Linked DNA regions of Homo sapiens: all the other regions are linked to region 1. The links are contacts of gene promoters, found by promoter capture Hi-C in blood cells and fetal thymus (Javierre and others, 2016). All regions are on one chromosome and are shown on one strand. Each heading gives the region's core, a stretch centred on a gene start or on the middle of the fragment in contact. The rest is flanking DNA. Distances are from core to core; before and after follow the strand shown.

Region 1 (3,278 bases), core at 468-2,967:
CATCAATTATTTGTTATTCTAGTTCAGCAGTTCTGGGAGCGAGTTATGGAGAAGATAAACCACCAACTCCTCACTTCACAGAATCAACTCAGTATTCAGGGAATACTCTAAGAGAAGGGGTAAAATGTCCCTAGAGGTGAATCCCAGCTCTTCGCATCATTTCTCAATTCCTTCTCAATAGAGACTCTAGGACCAGAGCTCCCTTTATCACCTCCATCCTAACATACCTAATTGTTTCAGAAAGTTACCTTTTAAAACAAGATCTTCTACCAGAATAGAAGACCTCTCTGCTGGTCCTCGAATTTAAATAAATTCAATTTTCACACGATAACCTGCCTGATAGCATTCCAAAACATTCGTTACCACTGCAGTTTCAAGTTATTTTGTAGTGAATTGTGAACTAAATCTTGATTAAATTGCGGTAAAGATGGGAAACAAAAATCTATGTTTAGACAGGTTTCCTATCTAAAATTTTCCATTACGAGCTTAGGAAAAACAAAACCTGTACACTCAACATTTTAAATCTGTTTCTAACTGAACAAGATGATAGGTGATGCAATGAGGCTTAACTCTATCATGTAATTGCCACAAAACACTAACATTGTAAAACATTCAATACTTTAAATTACTGAATATTCTTTTTAAAGAAGTTGAATATTGTAAGAATTATTTAGCTTCTGGAGTTTAACACTTACAACATTAAAAAAAGGTTTCTAAGAGGAATAAGGTCTCATCTGAAAACAGGGTTTAAAAAAAAAACCGTATAAACATTGATACATGTCCAAAAACATTTCCCATCGTAAGGTATTATTTCTAATACTAAAGGCAAAACAAATTAAAACAGATCAAACATTTGCAGTCAAATGTCCAAATTTTTGAACTGGGAAAATGATGTCAACGTTTTTCATCCGTTTTCTTGTAAGGTTCCAGATCAAAAATAAACAGCCATCGGGCTCATCAATTCAGGTGCGGAAACTCATTAAAATCGAGCTTTTGGAGGGGAGAAAACATATTCCCAGAATTTGGTTTATCGGGTAAAATTGCCCCGTGGCCCACACCAGAAACCTCGGGCAACTGCCCGGGCCTTGCCCACCCCTCCCGCGGGCCGCACCTGCCAAGGCCGCACCGCCAGCGCCCCCTGCCGCCCTCTCTGCACAGAGACCCGCGCCCACCCCCGCACCCGCACCCGCACCCGCACCTGCCCCCACCCCGCGCTCGCCCCGCGCCGAGGCCGCGCAGCCTGCGGGCAGTGGCGGGGGCACGAGGATGCGAATCCAGGCGGGGCCGGGAGCTGGGCGCGTCCCCCAGAACCCCCGCCACGGCCAGGCCTGAGCCTCACCTACCTACGCCGTATTTCTCCTCCTCCGTGGGGGTCCACATGGCCGTGCCGGGCGCGGCCCCGCGGGCGCGGCGACCGGGCGACAACGCGGCGGGGACGGCCGCGGGCCCGGCTGTGGCGCACCGCGAGTCGAGGCGGGGACGGTCAGGCGGCGCGGGGCAGTGGGCGGCGCATCCCTCACAGGCCGTCCGGGATGCCGCCGCCACCCCCGCCACGTCTGGACCGCGAGGCTCCGCGGGTGGCCCAGCAGCCCCTGGCGGCGCGGGCGAAGGCTCGCCACCTGTCCGTCGCCGCTGCTCCCGTGCCGCCGCTTGCTTCTTCACAGCTCCGCCGCCCGGCTCCCGGCGCCGCCGCGGCTCGGCTCGCCCCAGCGGGCTCGCAGGACGCCCGCGCATGCGCCACTCCCTGCCGCGCAGGGGCTCGCGCTGCCCGGGCTCGCGCCGTCCCGAGCCCGCGCGCGAATCCACGCGCCGCTGCTGCGCGCCAGCGGAGGGAAATCCGCGAGAAGCTATTGGACTGCCCGGCCCCGGACCGGCTTCTAGAATCGCTGGTCCGGGGCCCTCAGCTGCAGCAAACCCCGGAGGGGGCGAAGCCGGTCAGGTGGGCGACTCCCTCTACCCGGACTCCCCACTCGCTTCCGCTTCCAGTGCCTCCTGCCTGCGCCCCGAGATGGCCACAGGCCTCCTGGTCGGAGAGGGGAGATCCAGAAAAGGAGGACACGACACCATTTTCAGACCCATCCCAGTGTCACCCACAGTGCTGTCGGAAAGGTCCCCGGAGCCACCCTGTGCATTCCCAGGGCCCGCAGGATGGAGTCGCCACGAGGGAACCAGGTGGGGTGCACTCGTGCCCCTCTCTCCTGGATCCCCTGTGGGCTGAGGCCGCTGACACCTCCTGGGTTCTTGCTTCTCTGAGATGGCCTGAGTGGTGAATGTTTGGGGCCAGAACAATCAACAGCCGCCTTGCTAGTAAGGAAGAGCTTCATTGGGCCCTTCGTGTTCCTACCCAGGACACGGCATCTGCTGCTCCTGGGTGTCTGCCTCCCTTGGAGCCCTAAGAACTGGCTCCTACCGGAAACTTTCCTCCTCTCTCTCCTCCCTAAGAATCCATTCATTCTGATGCCTGTAAATGTCACCTTGTGACCCCCAAGTCAACCACTTACCAAAGAACAGGAACTGCAGGACTTCTCCTTTCCACCTACATTTGGACCACATGCTCTAATCCCAGCAGATTTGCCCATCTCTGTCACTAGCACTACTAAGTCAAAACCCTGGTGTCATCCTTCACTAGCACTCTCAGACACCACCACTCTTCAAAGCCCAGCTCAGCCCCTCACCTCCAGGAAGCCTGCCCTGACCCATAGTCTCCTTTCCTTCTTTGTCTGGAATTGGAGCTATGTTCGGTTTGTCTTATTTCCCTTATAAGACTGTCAGCTCCCAGAAGGCAAGCTCCAGGCTAAAATCAACTTTCTAAACCCTCACCACCAACCCAGCACCTGTTGTATAGTTGTTGCATGGGAAGCCAGACTAATAGAAGAATATCTTGCAATCAACAGATCTTGTTGATTCTTCGTTCAAAGTGTCATGATTGGTAACTCCTCCCAGGCCTGACTGTGCTCCCCTGGGTTATGGCCACCCCTTCCCACCTTCGGACCTTTAGGCTCCTCCTCTCACTAATCATAGCTGCCCACTCCCGCCCAGAAAAATGTCTGTTCTGTGAATGATAGAATTTCTCAATAGCCAGGTACACTTCTTTTTAGGGGTAGCAGGGGTGTCCAAGAACATAACGAAAGAGCTAACTGTTCCAAGAAGATAGACCCCTCCCCGGTGGCCACCATGGAAGTATTCTATGGAATGAAGCCACATTCTTACAAAACTCTCCAGGTAGCTATTCAACAAGTGGGGCTGAGCTACGCAGGCCTTCAGGGAACAACCTTAAA
Region 2 (3,278 bases), core at 324-2,823, 680 kb before region 1:
TAAAGTAGGAGGTTGAAAATACCTGCTGCTCAGGGGTGTTGTATGGATTAGATAAGAGAAGGTACACAAAGATCCTAGCACAGGGTTGACCTGTGGGAGCCTTGGCCAGGCAGGTGGCCGACGCTCTCTTTTTCTTTAGTCCTTAGAGAAGGGCCCCCAGAGCTGGGGCTGATGGAGCAGTTGTGAAGCTCAGCTTCATCTGAGACATGTCTCACCAGTTCCCTCCTCTCCACTTCAAACCACCGAGAGATGCCAGGCAAGCTGTGGGTCAGGGTCAGTGTGGTACGTTCAATCCACAGGCTCTGTAGGGAGGGAACAGGCAGGTATGGGCAGTTAGGCAAGTTTTGCCACACCCTGCCTACCTGAGGGATAAAACAGTGGTGAGTTCCCAAGGAAGTTGAGCTTGCCCCTGGACTTGCTGTGTGTACTGCCCGTTTTCCTAGATTTGTTCACCTTGAATTCATTCTCCTTGTCCTTGGGGCCTTTGTGAAAAGGCCTGTCATACCGGAACTTCCTCACATTGTTGACGCGATAGAAGCTCTTGACTCGATCTGGTACCCTATCCATCTGCAGAACATCCACATAATCTGGAATGGGCGTCACTGCATAGATCTGCAAGTCTGGGCAGGAAGTGAAGGAGAAACACAGACTTGCCAGAGCTGGGCCTGAGAGGCTGACCCCTGTCATCTCCTCAAAGGGGAGAAGTGCACCATAGTCCCTGCTCCTTACTGACAGCCCAGTAGGGGAGGCAGTGGCATCTCTAGGGGCAGATCAGACCCAAGCTCAGTTAGGTAAATCTCTATCTGCTCTCTCCCTCTCCCTGCTCTAGTAGTTGAGTTTCATGAGCACTCAGCCAAGGTGAGATGTCAACAGCCAAGTGTTCTCTGGTGCCCCTTTAAGAAACAAAGGGAAAGAGGGGAATGCAGGCATCCACCCCATGGGAGTGAAAGAAGGCTGCAAGGGTCTGGGCTTCCCCTCTATAGGTAAAGCATATTTACTGAAGAACAACTTTTAAATAAAATACTGTTTGAAATTTTTGTGGAAAAAAAGCAGATAAGAGTCCACTTGCCCTCCCTTCTCTGAAACAAGCTTGCCATAGTCATGGCAACTGTCATGTGGTCCCCAAGGAAGCTGTGTGTGAAAGGTGAGGGGAAGGGCAGTGTTTCCATTCAGACTTCCAAGTGCCACCAAACCAAAGGAACTCCTCATCTTCTCCTGCTCCACACATCCTTGGGCCCTGCCCCAGTCCGCCTGATGAAGAGAAGGGACAACAATAGTACACATGGGAGTGGAGCAGGGCACAGCACAGGTGGTATCCCTGTGACAAGAGCCCTGATAGGACCCCAAGTCACCCTGTACAGTGATTGCTCCTGGCTGCCTGGGCAGACTCCTCATAGGGCAGGGTGAGGATTAAGCTGTTGGAAGCAGCCAGCCTGAGGGATAAAGGCCTTCCTGAAGCCCCACTGATAACTAGACCACCCACTGCTAAGGGCGTGCCACTGCTTCCTCTTTGAGGTATTAGTGCCTTGCTAAGTGTGTGCTAAGCAATGAGGACACACTCAGGTTTAGGACTATGGGATATCTAAACCTGTATGGTTGGCAATGTGGTAAAGGGGCAGCTGACTGGGTGGATCTCACCTCCCAGGGCCCCTGCCCTCCTCCTCCCACCCAGTATCAAAGGATACACTGGGCATCGCACTGTAGGATGGCGTCATCAGGATGGTTGGGGTGCTGCATGGCGACAGCCTGCGGAAACTCACTGAGCATCCTCTGCTGGAAGGCCTCCAGCCTCTCGTAGTCATGGCCACGGCACACGTATTCTTTGTTCTGCCACAAACAGAAGAGCACACTCTATGTATGCTTTGCTTGTAGCCCCCCACCTCCACCCTGGAGTCAGTAGCTACATATAGCACAAACATATCTTAGGAGCCTTCTCTGTATCAGGCCCTGGGACAGGCACAGGGCATTGCACTCAAGGAGGCAGAAGAAAAACAAAGCGAGAATTACACTGTGGTGTGGCAGCCCCAAGGGAAGGGTACAGGCTGCAAGAAGCTTGGAAGAAGAAGAAAAACCTTACGCAGGAAAGAGAGCAAGGTGGGAGATGGGATTTTAGAAAAAGCTATGTTAAAAAAACGTCCTGAAAGGTCCACCTAGGTCAGGCTGGTATGGTATGGTGTGAGTGGAGAAGGGCAATCTATGTGGGTACCGTGACAACCAGGGCAACAACAATCAAGACAGGAAAAGGTGGAGCTGGAAAGAAGGTGTCTGTGTAGAGAACTGGTAGAAGCAGTTGGGCAGAGGGGGCACTGCCAGCCCCTCTTGACATGTCTTCAAAGGAAGAAAGAGAGAGGCATCACAGGGCCAGCCATATGCTTCCCGGGACAGGGTTAATCACTGGGCAGGCCTTGGAATACCCTGACCCTGACTCCAATGTTACCAAGGAGTGATTGCTATGGGTGCCACCAAATAATTTTAAATGGGGGGGGGGTGGTGATCAAGTGTGTGATTCTGAAGGATCACTTTTATTAGTTGGGAGAAACAGTCTAATGTTGCCCAGTGCCCAGTAGGTATTCAGTAACTGTTTATTGCATTAGTAACCCTTTGGCAGCAAATTTCTTTGCAAACATGTCAGCAGAACAAATAAACATCATGCTAAGTACAGACTTCTTAAAACTTTATGTTATGTCACATTTACTTTTGGTTATGTCTCAGTTTTTCTCTTTGTGGACAAGGCACCCCCAACTCTGCTTGCTCTGCCTATGTCATAGCTGGTCATGAGTGGGTGGCTGGAGGAAGTTCCCCTGAAACCCACTGGTGATGCAGTCTGCCCATCCAACTGCCTAGCCAGACCCATTTCAACAAAATGGTATCAGGCACTGCCAGCCCCTCTTGGCATGTCTTCAAAGGAAGAAAGAGAGAGAGAGGCGTCACAGGGCCAGCCATATGCTTCCTGGGACAGGGTTAATCACAGGGCAGGCCTTGTAAGACCCTGATCTTCTTGAAATAGGATTTCTGTCTCATTTTTACTTCCTCTCTCACTATGGGAGAACTTGGCTAAGGCTGGGCCATGTGTCTGTATTGTTTTTTTGTTTTTTTGAGATAAGAGTCTCACTCTCTTGCCCAGGCTGGAGTGCAGTGGTGCAATCTGGGCTCACTGCAATCTATGCCTCCCGGGTTCAAGTGATTCTCCCACTTCAGCCTCTCAAGTAACTGGGATTACAGGTATCTGGCACCATGCCTGGCTAATTTTTGTATTTTTAGCAAAGATGGGGTTTCAC
Region 3 (3,278 bases), core at 255-2,754, 640 kb before region 1:
ACCAAAAAACAGGAAATACATATAAATCTAATAATATATGTGTAAGATCTGTATACAAAACACTGATGAAAGAAATAAAAGAACACCTAAATAAATGGAAAGATATACTGTTTTCATTGACTATTAAGACATAATTCTTCCCAATTTGATATATATATAATTTTTTTGAGACAGAGTCTTGCTCTGTTGCCCAGACTGGTGAGCAGTGGTGCGATCTCAGATCACTGCAATCTCCCTTTCCTGGGTTCAAGCAATTCTCCTGCCTCAGCCTCCTAAGTAGCTGGGATTACAGGCACCTGCCACCACGCCCGGTTAATTTTTATGTTTTTAGTAGAGATGGGGTTTCACTGTGTTGGCCAGGCTGCTCTCAAATTCCTGATCTCAAATGTTCCACCTGCCTTGGCCTCCCAAAGTGCTGGGATTACAGGCATAGCCACTGTGCCCGGCCCCCAATTTGATTTATAGAATCACTGCAATCCCAGTCAAAATCTCAGCAGGAATGTTATAGATATCGACATGCTGATTCTAAATTTATTTAAAAAAGGAAAAAGAATTAGATAGCTAACACAATACTGAAAAAAAAAGGACAAAACTGGAAGACAGACTCACACCATGTGGTTTTAAGACTAACTATAAAGCTACTATAATAAGATAGCGTGGTATTGATGAAAGAATAAACATACTGATCTACGGAAGGACTAGAGTCTAGAAAGAGATTCACACAAATATGGTCAATTGATTTTTTAAGTAGTTTTAAGTGACAATAATTATATCTATTTATAGAGTACAATATGATGTTTTGATATATGTATACATTGTGAAATGATTAAATCAAGCTAATTAACATATCTGTCACCTCACCTAATTTTTTTTTGCAATGAGAACATTTAAAGTCTACTCTTTTAGCAATTTTTAAATATACATTATTATTATTATTATTATTATTATTATTATTATTATTATTTTGTGATGGAGTCTCGCTCTGTTGCCTAGGCTGGAGTGCAGTGGTGCGATCTTGGCTCACTGCAACTTCCACCTCCCGGGTTCAAGTGATTCCCCTGCCTCAGCCTCCTGAGTATCTGGGACTACAGGCACGTGGCACCACGCCTGGCTAATTTTTGTACAATACATTATTATTAACTATAGTTACCACGTGGTGCAATAGCTCACTAAAGCTTACTCCTCCTAACTTTGAATACAAAGTTTCAAAGGTCTTTTTTCTTTTTCTTTTTTTTAAGCTTCTCCTTGTCCAAACCCATTTGTTTTTCTTTTTTTTTTTTGGCAATTGGTTTTTGACCAAGGCAGAAAGACAACTGAAGAAAGGATACTCTTTTCAACAAAAGATGCTGGAATAATTGGACATCTTGTTGCAAAATAAAAAAAAGAACCTGATCCATCCTTCATACCTTATACAGAAATCAACTCAAAATAGATCATAGATCTAAATTTAAAATGTAAAACTATAAAACTTCTAGAAGAAAAGACAGGAGAAAAATTTTTGTGGCCCTATGTTAAGAAAAAGTTCTTGGGGTATGACCCCAAAAGCATGATCTATAAAAGAAAAACATTGACAAACTGGACTTCATAAAAATTAAAAACTTTTGTTCTAAGAAAGATATTGTTTAGTAAATGAAAAGATAAGCTAAAGATTTGCAGAAAATATCTGTAAATCATATGCTCAACAAAGGACTTACATACAGAATATATAAAGAACCCTACAATTCAACAATAAGGAAAGCAGCAACTCAAATGAAAATGAACAAAAGCTTTGAACTCATTTTACCAAAGAAGCATAAAGATGGTATATAAGCATATGAAAAGATGCTCAACACCATTAGTCACTAGGGAAATAGAAATGAAAACCACAATGATATACAACTACACACCTATTAGAATGGCTAAAACAAACGAACAGATAATACTAAGTACTGGTTAGTATGCGGAGCAATCGATTATATACTGCTGCTGAGACTTCAAAATGGTATAGCTATTTTAGAAAAGAGTTTGAGAACCTCTTCGAAAGCTAATTACACACTTGTCACAAGGCCCAACAATCCTATTCCTAAGTATTCACTCAAGAAAAATGAAAGCTTATATGCATACAAAAACCTGTAAAGAAATGTTTTTAGTAGCTTTATTTATAATCCACAAAAGAGGAAATAACCCAAATGTCTTTCAAATGGTGAATGAATGAACTAAATACTACTCAGCATAGAAAAGCTACTGATACATGCAGTGACATGGATTAATTTCTCAAAGCATTATGCTAAGTGAAAGGGGCCAGTCTCAAAAGGCTGCACTTTGCTTGATTCCATTTATATGACAGTCTAGAAAAGGCACAACTATAGTGATGAAGAGCAGACCTATGGTTGCATTTGTTAAGAACAGGGGAAGGGTTTGACTACAAATAGACAGCAAGACTGAATTTTTAAGTATTCAAAAACTCTTGATTGTGGTAGTGGTTACACGACTATGCATTTGCCAAAACACATAGAACTGTAAATCAAGAAGAATACATTTTACTCTATGTAAATTTAAAAATAAATAAATATTTAAAAATTACTGTTTGCCTGGTCTACTTCTCACTGTTACAGTCACCTATTCTAAATAGACCACTGGTTCATCCCAGAATCACAGGCTCGGAAGGAGCTTAGTGGGGAACTGGTACAATTCCCAAGCCAATACAGAAAATTCCCCTAGAGGTTTCCTGGGAGCTTCTGCTTGAAGATCATCTGCCAAGAGAGAAAATCTCTATCTCCCAAAGCAGGCCTGCTTACAGTGGACAGTTTTTGCTGTTAGCAAGTTATTTATTTGATTAGCTAAAATTGGCTTCCTCATCATTAGCCCCTATTGGTCCTGGTACTATCCCCTGGAGCTACAGATATAAAGGCAGGGGCCATCTCCTACACTTAGTGGTGGCAAAAGAACTACACAGGAGGACAGCCTGAAGCCATTCAGTTGGAAGCCAAGGGGCCTGTATCTCCTGGACCAACCCCTCTGTGCAGTAGTCTATAAAATGCTGGGCTACCCTGAGCCATGAGAAGTCATCTGGTCTGGGCTGCAGCCCTAGAAATGCCTGGATTATACAGTGAAAATCCTCAGTAAAGGAATGACATCACACTCCCAGGGCCCTATCATGATTGAAACTGGGAGGCTACAGTCTCAATCATTCCTTGATCAGAAAGTTATAGTGATGTTCATTCTTTCCTGGCCTCATTATTTTCTGGCCTCTAACTTCATGGAGAAAATCCACAAATCAATTTTGGCCAGCAAGTAAG
Region 4 (3,278 bases), core at 575-3,074, 590 kb before region 1:
ACTCAAGCCTCTGTAATGGTGGATGCTCCTCCCCTGACCAAGCTTGAGTGTCCCAGATCGACATCAGACTGCTGTGCTGGCAGTGAGAATTTCAAGCCAGTGGATCTTAACTTGCTGGGCTCCGTGGGGGTGGGATTCACTGAACTAGACCGCTTGTCTCCCTGGCTTCAGCCCCCTTTCCAGGGGAGTGAACGGTTCTGTCTCGCTGACATTCCAGGCTCCACTGGGGTATGAGAAAAACTCCTGCAGCTAGCTCAGTGTCTGCCCAAACAGTGGCCCAGTTTTCTGTTTGAAACCCAGGGCCCTGGTGGTGTAGGCACCTGAGGGAATCTCCTGGTCTGCAGGTTGCAAAGACCATGGGAAAAGCGTAGTATCTGGGCCGGAATGCACTGTTCCTCAAGGCAGTCTCTCCCAGCTTCCCTTGGGTAGGGGAGGGAGTTCCCCAACCCCTTGTACTTCCAAGGTGAGGCGACGCCCCACCCTCCTTCTGCTTGCCCTCCATGGGTGCACCCACTGTCTAGCCAGTCCCAATGAGATGAGCCGGGTACCTCAGTTGGAAATGCAGAAATCACCTGCCTTTTGTGTTGATCTCGCTGGGAGCTGCAGTCCGGAGCTGTTCCTATTTGGCCATCTTGCCAGCCCTCTGATCCTAATTTAATCTTAATTCTTAGCCAAAGATTCCTAGTTACTCCTACTGTTTTTCAAATTATTTCATTCAACTTCTGGAATGGATAAAAGCTAATCTAAATTTTCTTTTTTTTTCTTTTTCTTTTTGGAGACAGAGTCTCAGTCTGTTGCCCAGGCTGGAGTGCAGTGGTGCGATCTTGGCTCACTGCAACCTCTGCCTCCCGGGTTCAAGCAATTCTCCTGCCTCAGCCTCCTGAGTAGCTGGGACTACAGGTGCATGCTAGCACACCCAGCTAATTTTTTTGTATTTTTAGTAGAGATGGGGTTTCATCATGTTGCCCAGGCTGGTCTTGAACTCCTGAGCTCAAGCAATCCGCCCACCTTGGCCTCCCAAAGTGCTAGGATTACAGGTGTGAGCCACTGTGCTCAATTTTCATTAATACAATGATTAATCTGGAAATAAAATTCCCCATACATTCTCAATATCTCCTATGAATAAGGTGTTCATAAAAAACTAAGTAGTATGGTAGCTAAATAAACTTGGTCTAAAGACTGTTCACAGAACAAATTTGTGCTTCTTCTCCAACATAAAGCCACTGAGCTGTTTTACATCTGGCAGCTGAGGCACAGCCAGATTTGCAGTAAAAGCAGCATTTTGTTGTATCAGGTATTTCCTTGTAAATAATCCCTTACCCAACACACATGATCCTGGCAGGGCTTCTTCATCTCTGAAAACCAGAGGACAAAGAAACCACCCACTGAGAAAGAGGAACCCAGCATCAAAGCTTCCCTGCAGTGTGCGAACCTGAGTAAAAAGGAGTGTTTCTGAGTTTCGGCTGTCCAGACTGAGCACAAACCGGATGGACTGGAAAAGTTCTTGGATACTGGATCTGAATTGTTCCTCTTCCATTCCACAAGTGGCTCGTGAGTACAGGATCCGTGACTGTACAATGAACTTGAAAAGGTACTCCAAGGCCTGAAAAGTGTGGGAGAAAAAGTGATGGAGAGATGTTGAAGATGCTCAGGAACTCACATAGCAGGAAACAAGGGGCAAAGTAACAGCAGTTTCTATACCAAAATCAGGTGTTGGGCAATTCTAACTATGGAGATAGATAGGTACTTTATTTTTAAAAATTTTTTCTCAAATATCCAAATTGTCACTAAGCAGCAGCTACCTTCTTACTGAAAGAATCATCAAATAATTTCACAACTGTTTTCTGAGGTTCTGGAATTAAGGAGCCATAGACTGTTATAGAAATAGTTGAATTCAAGACCACTCAGAGTTTAAAAAATAAGTTTCTCTGTATTTTTTTTCAGGTCTGGAAATAAAAGGGTCACAAGGCAAGGATGTAAGAAAGACTCAAGTTTACTGCAAGAAGGAAGTGTCCTAAAGGACTGAGGAATCCTCAGACTTAGGAGTCTCCTACATCTTTAAGATATAGCTGGGGCCTGACACAGTTCCTCCTTTTTCACCAGGGGTCACAGAAATCTGAAGAAAACCTGTCCCAGGCTGCACAGCAGCTGATAGGCCTGATACATCCAGTATCCACCCTCTTCCCACCAAGACATCTGCTATAAGCAGTTCATAAATGGTACAAGATGAAGCTTCTGCAAAAATGTTTGGGAGCAGAATCTGATTCTGAGGAGTTCCTGACGCTTGGCCCATGCTTACAGAGTAATTTTCTTTTAAGAGAACAAATTCAAGACCCAATACTATGTTTTCTAATAAAAAAAAAATGCCACAGATTTCCCAGACACTGAAAAGCCAGAAATAATGGAGAGAAACTTATGCAAGGCTGAAACAAACAGAAGTCAGGTACTTGAAATATAAAACAGGAAACAATTCCCAAACTACCTTTCATGATCTATCCAGCTGTTAGATGGTTTGGAAAAGCAGAACTTAATATTTTGTGGCCCATACAAAATTCAGTTGGCACTGGGGAATGCCAGTTTAGAAAAATGTGTCTTACAGGGCTTGTACCAGATGATTCTGTAGAAGGATTTAGTGTGCGGCCTCATCTCCATAAATGCTACACCCTCTGTTCTAGTAGCTTTTTAATGCCTAGTCTATAAAGAACTTGAAATATCTGTTAGTTTCTAAACCCAGACACTTGCAGGCTGGACTCTGCCACTGCTCTAGTATGTCTATATTGTGGTGACTCTTCAGGCCCATGAAGCAGAAAGTATACACTTCTGAGCTAGCTTCATTTATTAGCTTATGCCAGTTTGAAGTCACTGAAGTAGGAGGTATTTTCTATCGGAACAAAGAAAATAAATGTTTGCATTTTCCAAACTAAATGGCTAGGTAGCAGGTCTGACCTTCCCCTTTAGGTATTTTGGTTTTGTATGATTAAGATGATGGCTTGCTGGGCTCAGCAGAGGACAAAAGAGGGACAAGGTCAGAACTGACACCCTGGAATCCTTATAGGTAGGGACTAGAATCCCTATAGGTAAAGGATAGAACAGAACTTCTTGGAGCAGCCTAAAAAGCCAGGATGTACTCGGGAGGCTGAGGCACGAGAATGGCGTGAACCCAGGAGGTGGAGCTTGCAGTGAGCCGAGATCACGCCACCGCACTCCAGCCTGGTGAACTGAGCAAGACTCCGTCTCCAAAAAAAAAGAAAGCCAGGATGGTTTCCTCAGTTAGGTCA

The links. Contacts are between HindIII fragments. The CHiCAGO score rates a contact against its expected background, and 5 or more counts as called.
Region 2: a fragment that was not itself captured here is called in contact with the fragment with the promoter of DOCK3 in region 1 in 3 of 17 cell types (megakaryocytes, naive CD4 T cells and naive CD8 T cells); the score reaches 6.2 in megakaryocytes.
Region 3: a fragment that was not itself captured here is called in contact with the fragment with the promoter of DOCK3 in region 1 in 4 of 17 cell types (naive CD8 T cells, total B cells, naive CD4 T cells and 1 more); the score reaches 7.0 in naive CD8 T cells.
Region 4: a contact is called between a fragment that was not itself captured here and the fragment with the promoter of DOCK3 in region 1, in 1 of 17 cell types (monocytes). The highest score is 6.5, in monocytes.

The regions. Positions count from the first base shown.
Region 1 is chr3:50,673,366-50,676,643 of GRCh38, reverse strand. It overlaps DOCK3 (dedicator of cytokinesis 3), which reads right to left and starts at 1,717. Exons shown (of 53, transcript NM_004947.5): 1 at 1,344-1,717. The coding sequence starts at 1,380. MIR4787 (microRNA 4787) reads right to left here and starts at 1,564; the gene lies at 1,481-1,564. RefSeq lists a silencer at 1,464-1,753. The HindIII fragment of the contact is 16,225 bases long and covers 1-3,278 here.
Region 2 is chr3:51,353,431-51,356,708 of GRCh38, reverse strand. It overlaps DOCK3 (dedicator of cytokinesis 3), which reads right to left. Exons shown (of 53, transcript NM_004947.5): 41 at 1,686-1,827; 42 at 454-620; 43 at 216-302. Among named protein-coding and RNA genes, the nearest start is that of MANF, 30 kb to the left of the region's middle. The HindIII fragment of the contact is 963 bases long and covers 1,092-2,054 here.
Region 3 is chr3:51,315,268-51,318,545 of GRCh38, reverse strand. The region is part of intron 32 of DOCK3 (dedicator of cytokinesis 3); the gene reads right to left. Among named protein-coding and RNA genes, the nearest start is that of MANF, 68 kb to the left of the region's middle. The HindIII fragment of the contact is 528 bases long and covers 1,241-1,768 here.
Region 4 is chr3:51,258,481-51,261,758 of GRCh38, reverse strand. DOCK3 (dedicator of cytokinesis 3) reads right to left here. Exons shown (of 53, transcript NM_004947.5): 23 at 1,433-1,603. Among named protein-coding and RNA genes, the nearest start is that of MANF, 130 kb to the left of the region's middle. The HindIII fragment of the contact is 820 bases long and covers 1,415-2,234 here.